Regions from separate parts of the Homo sapiens genome. Here region 1 is linked to region 2. Evidence: promoter capture Hi-C in human tissues and cell types (Jung and others, 2019). All regions are on one chromosome and are shown on one strand. Each heading gives the region's core, a stretch centred on a gene start or on the middle of the fragment in contact. The rest is flanking DNA. Distances are from core to core; before and after follow the strand shown. Region 1 overlaps GGACT (gamma-glutamylamine cyclotransferase). Region 2 holds the start of ZIC5 (Zic family zinc finger 5).

Region 1 (5,295 bases), core at 1,553-4,052, 600 kb before region 2:
CCAAAGTGCTGGGATTACAGGTGTGAGCCACTGCCCGGCCTATTTTTCTAAAACAAGGTCTGTACAGTTGGTTTATTCAAGTCAGAATTTTTAAATCCCATCTATTGTATTTGGTTTATGTATCTCTTGTCTCTTTTAAAAATAATTTTGTATGCCAGGCATTAATTTGATTCAGAGTGTTCTTATTCTTTTACCTTTCATTTTTAAACTGTTTTAGAGTAGTTGCATGCTCTCATGCTTTCATTCATTATTATTAAGTTTACAGTAAAACCAACTTGTTTGTACAATGTGAATAGCTTTAAAATGTGTGGATTCTTGTACTGGCCATCACCAACGGTATACAGAGCAGTCCCATCACCAAAAAGCCAGGAAACAAAACAAACCCTCCCTCATTCTGCCCCTTTGTAGTCTAACCCACCCCTTCCTCAAACCCTGACAGCTTTGATTTGTTCATCTTCGTATGTTGTGCCTTTTCCAGAATGTCATGTAAATGAAATGATATAATATGCAACCTTTGAGGCTGATTTTTCACTTCGACGACAACTTTGAGATTTGTTTGTGTGTATGTCCTTTCTTATCGCCATCGTCTGGATGTACTGCATTGTATGTATCCATTCACAGTGGAGGGCCATTTGGATTATTTACAGTTTTTGGTGATTTTGAATACAGCTGCTGTAAGCACTTATATACAGGTTTTTATCTGAAGAAAAGTTTTCATCTTTCTAGGGTAGATTCCTAGGAGTGCAATTGCTGGGTCATAATTTTGTAAGAAAGTTCTAGATTTAATTTTATAAGACACTTTCCACCATGCCTGTACTGCTTTGCATTCCCACCCGCAATGGTGAGAGTTCCAGTTGTTTCACATCCTTCTCAGCATCTCATGTTATCAATTTGGTGTTTCTTTATTTGAGCCATCCTAATAGATGTGTTATTTTTATTAGGTTTTTGAGATTACAAAAATTTGTTTTTAATAATTCTCTTACAAGTTATTGGATTAAATTCATATACCTGTTTTCAAAATAAATATTGGTTTTCTGATTTTTTACATTGAAATATGGTAAGTATACTGAAAAAGCCAGGATATTATATAGATAAGAGTCATTCTCAAATCTCACTAATTAAGAGATTATATTTGGCAAAGTATTACAAAATAATAACTGAATTCACAATGCATTTTGCAATGCAAGATCCATTCATTATATGCATTTCATTCCTGAGCATCTCATTCCTGTTTGACCATTAGTAGTAGTAACTAGTAGTGCCATGTTTGCTTTTGCCATCAGTTTTATGCTAGATTGGATCGGTCGATGAATAGTTGATTACATGAGAACAAACTGGATGTCAGCAGAGAGTAATTTGTTTGAATGCCCTTTAACTGTAGCAAACACCATTGTAGTGTTTGTTTGTTTGTTTAGACAGGGTCTCACTATGTCACCCAGGCTGGAGTGCAATGGCATAGTCACAGCTCACAGCAGCCTCGACCTCCTGGGCTCAAGTGATCCTCCTGCCTCAGCCTCCCAAGTAGCTGGGACCACAGTTGTGCACCACCTACATCCTGCTAACTTAAATTTTTTGTAGAGATGGAGCCTTGCTATGTTGCCTGGGCTGATCCCATCATAGTTTTTTTAATGGGCTGCTCCAGTGTGTCTGAAGCAGTAGTCAAAGTTTGCATTTGAATACCTTTTTCCTTATTAAAACATGGTGAGCTCAAAGAAGAAAACAAGTCGAAATTTGTGAAACAAAAATCATGCATCTATCTCTTTGTCTGATTTAGGAACAGTAGTCTCTGATCACTATTGGTTGAAAGTCTGGAGTTGACTCCTAGATTAGTTACTAAAATGCCACTGTTAATGTTTGTCATCTCTCACTCCTCCCCTACGATGAAACTGGGAAAGTCTCTGGGTACACAGGTCATTGCTAATGGAGGTCCTTCTGTAAATTCAAACCTCACCCGTTAACTGCTATGGTATAGGCTCTCAGTTGGTGGTAGTATTTAAAAGACACAGAACGAAGATTCCTGTCATCTACTTGGAAGAACGTTAGCATATAGGTTTTATTTTGTGACTGGAATCTCCCTGTTTTTCCTTCTGAAAAGTTGCTGGAGGGTTCGACCTATTGGCAGACCTTCCTTTCTAATATAGGGACATCACAAAGGAAAAACTGAGCTGACAAAGGAAGACTGAGGACAGACATCAGATGGGCTCTTGAGGTTGCTGTGGCTGAAACCTCAGAGGCCAAGTGTAGGGAAGATTTGGTTTCAAGTGTTAAATTGGATAGATTTCTGTCTCTTTTTTTTTTAATACACATAAGTATGATTTATATATTATATGATATTCTGGAGGAAGCAGTTCTGTTAATTTCTTTTTATTAGTTCAGCTTTTATTTTAGATACAGGAGGTACCTGTGCAGGTTTTTTACAGAGCATATTGTACCCAGGTAGTGAACATAGTACTCAGTGGGTCATTTTCAACCCCTGCCTCCCTCCGTTCTCTGCTCTAGTATCTTCACTGGCTCTTGCTCCCAGGTTTATGTCCATGTGTGCTCAGTGTTTAGCTCCCATTTATAAGTGAGAACGTGGTATTTGGTTTTCTTTCTTTTTTGAGATGGGGTCTCGCTCTGTTGCCCATGCTGGAGTGCAGTGGTGCAATCTCAGCTCACTGCAACCTCTGCCTCCCAGGTTCAATCGATTCTTCTGCCTCAGCCTCTTGAGTAGCTAGAACTACAGGTGTGCACCACCACACCCAGCTAATTTTTGTATTTTTAGTAGAGACAGGGTTTTGCCATGTTGTCCAGGCTGGTCTCAAACTCCTGACATCAAGTGATTCCACCGGCCTCAGCCTCCCAAAAAGTGCTGGGATTACAGGTATGAGCCACCACGCCCGGCCAGGTTTTCTGCTCCCGTGTTAATTCAGTTAAGCTTATGGCTTCCAGCTGTATCCATGTTGCTGCAAAGGACATGATTTCTTTCTGTTTTATGACTGTAGTAGTCCATGGTGTATATGTGCCACATTTTTTGTCCAATCCATTGTTGATGGACACCTATGTTGGTTCCATGTCTTTGCTGTTGTGAATAGTACAGCAATGAACATATGAGTGCATGTGTCTTTTTGGTAGAATGATCTATTTTCCTTTGGATGTGTACCCAGTAATGGGATTGCTAGGTAGGTCTGTTTTAAGTTCTCTGAAAACTCCAAACTGCTTTCCACAGTAGCTGAACTAATTGACATTTCCACAGTGTATAATCATTCCCTTTTCTCCACAGCCTCGCCAGCATGTTTTTTTTTTTTTTTTGACTTTTTGATAATGCCATCTTGACAGGTGTGAGATGGTATCTCATTGTGGTTTTGATTTTCATTTCTCTGATTAGTGAAGATGAGCTTTTTTGGGTATGTTTGTTGGCCACTTGTGTGTCTTCTTTTCAGAAGTGTCTGTTCATGTCCTTTGCCCATTTTTAATGGGTTTATTTGTTTTTTGCTTGTTGATCCTGTGTTCGAGTAGTTTTTGTTTTAAAACTAACATATTAGGCCAAGCACAGTGGCCCTCACCTGTAATCCTAGCATTTTAGGAGGCTGAGGCGTGTGGATTGCTTGAGCCCAGGAGTTTGAGACCAGCCTAGGAAACATACTGAGACCCCATCTCTCAAAACAAACAAATAAAGAACCTAACATATTAATTGACCATTACATCTGTTGGGATTGGAATAAATCAGAAATAGTAAAGGATTAGTAAGGGTGTTACATCCATTGGACTCAAGTCTTTGTTTTGTTTAAAAAGTTATATATGGGTCTCTTTTAAACTTCTGGCTTATTGAGATTGTTTCAATGAAGTCACATATATGCACATATATGCACATATTTCATGGGATGGGGGAAGGGGTAATGGAAGAGTATTGGGCCTTAGTCCAGGGTGTTTAGAATACCAGACTAATATAGCTGCTGCCCCCTGGTGGCAGTGTAGTAAACAGTGACGTTCAAAGGTAAGGACTTGTGGAGAGCTAAGTCCAGTGGACTGTGGGTGTCAAGAGGATTGTAGAGGAAACTGGGAAGATGCCGCTTCTCTCCCACTCTTCTTGTGATTGCTACCTATATGGTCTTAGAAAAATCTTTTAGTTGGATTGAAGTGTAGATTTCATATTCAACTTTAAAATGTACTTTCTAAACTTTTTCCAGCCTTAATACCCTATGCTTCTCCAAGGGTATTAATAAAAGATGCCATTATATAGCAAAAGATGTCAAGTTCTATTTTTTTCCTTTAGCAGCTGTATCCTAAGAAACCCCAGATATTCGTTCAGGAAAGCAAGTTCTAGAGTACACCCTGAAGCTAGATACAGCTACAGCTCTGGGCAGCAAAATGCATAAATGTACCTGCAGCACAGTTCATCATTAATCAGTTTGAGGACTCTGCATTCTTATGAAAAGCTTACATCATCTGAAAAATGTTTTTTATCCTGGTGTGGTGGTGCACGCCTGTAGTCCCAGCTACTCTGGAGGCTGAGGCAGGAGGATACCTTGAGGCAAGGAGTTTGAGGCTGCAGTGCACTATGATCACACCTGTGAATAGCCACTGCACCCCAGCCTGGGCAACATAGCAAGACCCTGTCTACAAAAATAAATAAATGTTTTAAACATTAACACATAAATTTTACCATCTTAACCATTTTTAAGTGTACAGTTCAGTAGTATTAAGTATATTCACATTGTTGTGCAACCAACCTTGAGAACATTTTCATCTTTTAAAACTAAAATTCTATATCCATTAAACAACTCCCCATTTTCCCCGTCCCCCAGCTCCTGGTAATCACCATTCTGTTTCCTGTCTGTATGAATTTGACTACTCTAGGTATGTCATAAAAGTGGAATCTTACAGCATTTGTCTTTTTGTGGACTGGCTTATTTTGCTTCGCATAGTGTTCTCAAGGCTTATCCTTGTTGTAGGATGGGTCAGAATTTCCTTCCTTTCAGTCTTTTCAAGGCTCTGTAATATTCCATTGTGTGTATACCCCACATTTTGTTTATTCCTTCCTCTGTCAGTGGACACTTGGGTTGCGTCCAACCCTTGGCTGATGCTGGGAACGTGCATGAGCTATGTCATTTTTAGTATACTGTGCAGACCAATGCAGAGAAGGGCTTATACAGGTTTTTCCTGCACACAAAAGGTTAAATTTCATAATAAAGAACACCAGTCAACCATACCAGATAACTAGTGTATGGCTTTTTGTATGTTTGAGTAAGTTAAAAAAGGTTAAGACTTATTGGATACAAGATATATGCAAGGCATTATTATATCTGTGATATA
Region 2 (5,548 bases), core at 1,165-3,664:
GGGAGCTATATTTGAATTAAGACATATTAAATCGATGACAGATACATATCACGCTGTGTTTAACAAGAGTTGTACAAGGAGGCGGGTTCCAGATTCCGCACGGCTCTGCTACACCATTATTCACATTTTTACAGCCTTTCCTTCATGCCTTCACCCATTAAACCATTAAATTTCAGCAATTCAATAAAACAAAGCAGTTATAATTTTGACGAAAAGCTATTTTGAAGGGGGTGGAGGTACCCATTTTATTGCACAATAAAAATGCTCAACAGTCCATATTAAAGGCTAGCTTGTGTTTATTTTCTTCTTTCTTTATTCATTTTGTTTTGTTTTGTTTTTACTTATAACCTGCAGGATTGAACCCAAAGCTGCCATTACTGCAAGAATTAATGCTTATTGCCAAGAAATTCAAATAAAGGAAACTCATTGGAAATGTTCAGAGAGGAAACGATGACAGTGATAATTCCAAATATGATGCTTTCTCCATAAACTATCCATAGAGATGGCACAGCTCTCGATCAACCTTTGCCTGGTTGGCTTGAAATGTTTTAAGTCTTTGACATAAAAATTGTGAAAGGACTCGTCGTTTCCAAAGTGAGATGAAGATTTTGTTACTGCTGTTTATTAAAATTTTTTCGTTGTGTTTCCACACATGCCTTTAATTCCCCATATTTGAACTTCATTGCAACTTAAAGAAAAAGTCCATTTGAAATTTGATGGTAGCATTGTCTTTGTTTGCTTGTCAGTTTTATAAAAGAAATGACATTCCTAAGTCTCATACCGAAGCCCCCTGTTAAACATCGTTCACACCAATGTGAATGGCACTATCGAATCAACTCTTTTCAGAATATTTCTGATTACTTCCCACGGCCATCTCCCCAATAACGGCTTTGTGCAGTCTACTTTTACTTGGACTGCAAATGAATTAAGTTGGAAACATATTTTATTGTATCCCCAAAGAAAAAGATCACATTCTAATCATTATCACTTTTTTTTTTTTTACAAGTAATGTTACGGATGACAGCAAAATACAAATTTTAAAATCCTGGCTTTAATATTTGAGCATTTTGTAACATCACAAATTTCAAAAATGCTTTCTTTTAAAATCTGAAAAGGACACTTTTGGGGCAGTAAAATCCTTAATTTGGGGGGAGGGTCCCACATTTCTCCGCCCACCAAAAAGTGATGCAGGGAATTTCTATTTTTAAAAAATCGATTTGATACCAAACCTCTGGAAAGGGATGGGATTCGCTTTTTTAAAAGCCAGTTTTTATGGTTTTCAAATAAGACATCTTAGAGGTAGACTGGTTTATGAGAAAACGATAAAAAGGTGAAAGATTATTCTATCAGTAAATAAAAAGCAAAGATATTTCTTGATTTCAAAATAATATTTTATTGGATCAGTTCTAATTGTGGATCAGTCAAAGAAACTGAGGCATACATGTGGACTGTGGACTGGGATCTGGACCGGAAGGAGAAATTCTACTTAAAGGACGGTGCTTATTTAGCGGCTTCTCTCTGCAGAGATGCCGTTTGGCCTGCCCCGCCACTGTATCTCCGAAAGGCAAAAGTTAGAATCGCTGCCCGATCTCCTCTCCCCCGCCCCTACTGTAGATCTAATTGGAAGTGGCAGATCTAGAACCGATGAGTAGTGAGATTACACTTCCATCCAACTCCTTTGAACCATGTTGAAAAGGACTCTCCATGAGATAAAAAGTCGAGGTAAAACGGTTCCTTTGGGGGAAAGACTTATTTTGACTTCACCTGGTGTTTCGCGGAGCCAAATCACTCAAGTTGTCTTGCAACCAATAGACTTTATCTTCTTCACTCCGTCTACTGTCTATGCGCCCTAGGTGAGCGCTAGGCAGGTTGGGTGTCCAAACAAGAAGTTTCTAGCATCACCACTACAGGTAGGACGGGCTATTCACCCTTCTCTCCCAAACAGCAGCCCAGGGCTCTTCCACCCCACAAGAGAGGTGGAGGTAGAGGCAGAAAGTACTTGGGTGCCAGAAGGCACACAGAGAAGTGAGGCCAAGGTTTTTGAAACTGGGACTGCCCCTCGGGGGTCCTCAGCCCCTCACCACCCCGCGCCCTCTGCCCGCGTGCCGGCGCGCGCTCCGCGAGGTGCGTCAAGGAAGAGCGGGGCGCTGCGCGCGCAGGCCAGGCTCAAACTTTCTGCAAGTGCAACTTGGGCATCCCCGGGGAGGCGGGGACGTGTGGCTCCAGCGGAGGAGGGGGCGCGAAGCGAAAGCGCAGGCGGCCGCAAGCACGGGGGCGAATCCCCGCTGGGTCGAGGGCCTGAACGGGAGCCAATCGAGCAGCCGAGGCTACTGCCAATCACGCGGCTCCCTCCAATCCCACCCGTGCCATTTCCAAAATCTCGGTCCCACTGTGCAGCTCAAATGTGGTGTTCACTCTGCCAATCGCTGGAGGATAGAGTGGGAACAGGAATAAGCAGAGTTAAGAGGCCAGGACAAAAGAAGTTAAAGAGCGCCCAATACATACATGTTTTTGAAGGCGGGCAGAGGGAATAAAGTCCCCCCAGTGAGGGTCTATGGGCCTGATTGTGTAGTTCTGATGGAGCCCCCTTTGAGCAAGAGGAACCCGCCAGCGCTGAGATTAGCGGATTTGGCAACGGCTCAGGTCCAGCCGCTTCAGAATATGACAGGCTTCCCGGCGCTGGCCGGCCCGCCCGCCCACTCCCAACTCCGGGCCGCCGTCGCGCACCTCCGCCTGCGGGACCTGGGCGCTGACCCCGGCGTGGCCACCACTCCGCTCGGACCCGAGCACATGGCCCAGGCGAGCACGCTGGGCCTCAGCCCTCCCTCCCAGGCGTTCCCGGCACACCCGGAGGCTCCGGCAGCCGCCGCCCGTGCTGCAGCCTTGGTCGCGCACCCCGGCGCGGGCAGCTACCCCTGCGGCGGGGGCAGCAGTGGCGCGCAGCCCTCCGCGCCCCCGCCCCCAGCCCCTCCTCTTCCTCCCACCCCTTCACCCCCTCCCCCTCCCCCGCCTCCTCCTCCTCCTGCCCTCTCGGGCTACACCACCACCAACAGTGGCGGCGGCGGCAGCAGCGGCAAAGGCCACAGCAGGGACTTCGTCCTCCGGAGGGACCTTTCCGCCACGGCCCCCGCGGCGGCCATGCACGGGGCCCCGCTCGGAGGGGAGCAGCGGTCCGGCACCGGCTCCCCCCAGCACCCGGCCCCGCCTCCCCACTCGGCCGGCATGTTCATCTCCGCCAGCGGCACCTACGCGGGCCCGGACGGCAGCGGCGGCCCGGCGCTCTTCCCCGCGCTGCACGACACGCCGGGGGCCCCAGGCGGCCACCCGCACCCGCTCAACGGCCAGATGCGCCTGGGGCTGGCGGCGGCAGCGGCAGCCGCGGCGGCTGAGCTGTACGGCCGCGCCGAACCGCCCTTCGCGCCGCGCTCTGGGGACGCGCACTACGGGGCGGTTGCGGCCGCAGCGGCGGCCGCCCTGCACGGCTACGGAGCCGTGAACTTAAACCTGAACCTGGCGGCTGCGGCGGCCGCAGCAGCGGCCGGGCCCGGGCCCCACCTGCAGCACCACGCGCCGCCCCCGGCGCCGCCGCCGCCGCCGGCGCCCGCGCAGCACCCGCACCAGCACCACCCCCACCTCCCAGGGGCGGCTGGGGCCTTCCTGCGCTACATGCGGCAGCCAATCAAGCAGGAGCTCATCTGCAAGTGGATCGACCCCGACGAGCTGGCCGGGCTGCCGCCGCCGCCGCCGCCGCCGCCGCCGCCGCCGCCACCGCCCCCGGCCGGCGGCGCCAAGCCCTGCTCCAAAACTTTCGGCACCATGCACGAGCTGGTGAATCACGTCACGGTGGAGCACGTGGGAGGCCCCGAGCAGAGCAGCCACGTCTGCTTCTGGGAGGACTGTCCGCGCGAGGGCAAGCCCTTCAAGGCCAAATACAAGCTCATCAACCACATCCGCGTGCACACCGGCGAGAAGCCCTTTCCCTGCCCTTTCCCCGGCTGCGGCAAGGTCTTCGCGCGCTCCGAGAACCTCAAGATCCACAAGCGTACTCATACAGGTGGGTGTCTGTCCCCGGCCGCGCCGCCGCCGCCGCCACCAGCTCCTGCGCCGCCGCCGCTTCCGCCGCTGCTTCTCCTCCTCCTCCTGCTCGCCTTAATTTTTTTCTCCTTCTGCTGCTTCTCTTCGCATACGTATAACCCGGACATGTGACTTCTTTTTTTTTCTCTCCCCCCCTTTTTTTTTTCTATGAATAAGTAATTCGATAGCACACACAGGCCCCGCGTTGGGTTCCCACACGGCGGAGTCTCCAGCGCGCCCGCAGCCCCTCGGCCGGGACCCGCAACGCGCGCCAGCCGCCGCCGCCGCCACCTCGGAGCAGACGCAGCAGCAGCTGGAGCAGGAAGGCGCCCAGGACGGTCGGCAGTCCCCACCCGCCCGGCCCTGGGAAGTCTGGGAGGGCGATGGAAAGAGAGGCCGGGCCGCCCCGGCAAGCGCCTCTCTTCCCACCGGGTCGTAGGCCCCGCGCAGTCTCCGCGCTCCGAGGACCGGGCGTGGGATTTGCTGCCGGATTTGGGCCGCCCGAGGCAGGCCTTCCGGGAGGGGAAGGGACCCCTCCGGGAAGACAGGAATGCGCTTTCGGAACCCCGGAGACCACTCGCACTCGCCCACCGTGACACACTCTTCACGCACACCTTCTTCTGCGTGCGTCTCCCACAACTTTACACACTCATATCCTCCTGCGCGTGCACCCCATTCCCGCGACACCTGTGTGTCCTCACACTCACATCATTTACACGCCCCACGCGCCCTCTCACACGCAGTATCACACTCGCCCTGGAGGGTGCTGGAGTTGACATCTGCCTTTCTAGAGAAGGTTCTAGTTGTAGGAGGACCCGAGCCTCCCACCATCGGTGAGGCCTACCCTGTCGTGGAATTGGTGGGGAGCCACCGGCGTCGTGGGGACCCTCCCACCCCACCTCAAGCCCTGCCTCTGGGGATCCCACAGCGCTGAGGAGGGCGGCTGCGGCGCGAGGCGGTGGATGGCTCCTGTGGGTCGTGTGCCCCCTTTGAGCGGACCAGCGCGTCGGGCGGAAGCGCTGATGAGCGCGAACGCAGTCGGGATTTATAGGGACAGATACGATTACCCCTCGGAGGACACTTAAGTAACTGGAGTTTACGTTCAGTAATCACTTGGCAGATTTATCGGCGCTGCTGCGGCCAGGAGGTAGCCGCCGGGTCCCACGCTCGGGCCGGGGGCGCTCGGGGCTCTGCGGGGGCAGCAGCGTCGGGGTGGCCCGAGGCGGGAGCCTTGGCTTGGCTCCTGCGGGCCGCCTGATGGCCGGTGGGGAGCACGTTTTCCCAGGAGCCCCTTTTCTCTCTAATCGGGATCAGTCCGCCTTAATGATTTTTCCAGGAAGAAACTTCCCAGGAGGCTCTCGTAAAAACGCCCTGGCCCGCTAAGCCGGCTGCTCGCTCCTGTGCCCAGCACTTCTCGGCAGGGCAGGATCCAGGGACCGTGAAGCCGCTCCCCAGCCCGGCCCCGAAAGGGAAC

The links. Contacts are between HindIII fragments. The study calls those that stand out against the background at their distance.
Region 1: a contact is called between a fragment that was not itself captured here and the fragment with the promoter of ZIC5 in region 2, in 1 of the 25 tissues and cell types used here (H1 embryonic stem cells).

The regions. Positions count from the first base shown.
Region 1 is chr13:100,571,881-100,577,175 of GRCh38, reverse strand. All of the region lies in intron 2 of GGACT (gamma-glutamylamine cyclotransferase), which reads left to right. Among named protein-coding and RNA genes, the nearest start is that of GGACT, 14 kb to the left of the region's middle. The HindIII fragment of the contact is 4,454 bases long and covers 576-5,029 here.
Region 2 is chr13:99,968,633-99,974,180 of GRCh38, reverse strand. It overlaps ZIC5 (Zic family zinc finger 5), which reads left to right and starts at 2,414. Exons shown (of 2, transcript NM_033132.5): 1 at 2,414-4,054. The coding sequence starts at 2,578. The HindIII fragment of the contact is 23,774 bases long and covers 1-5,548 here.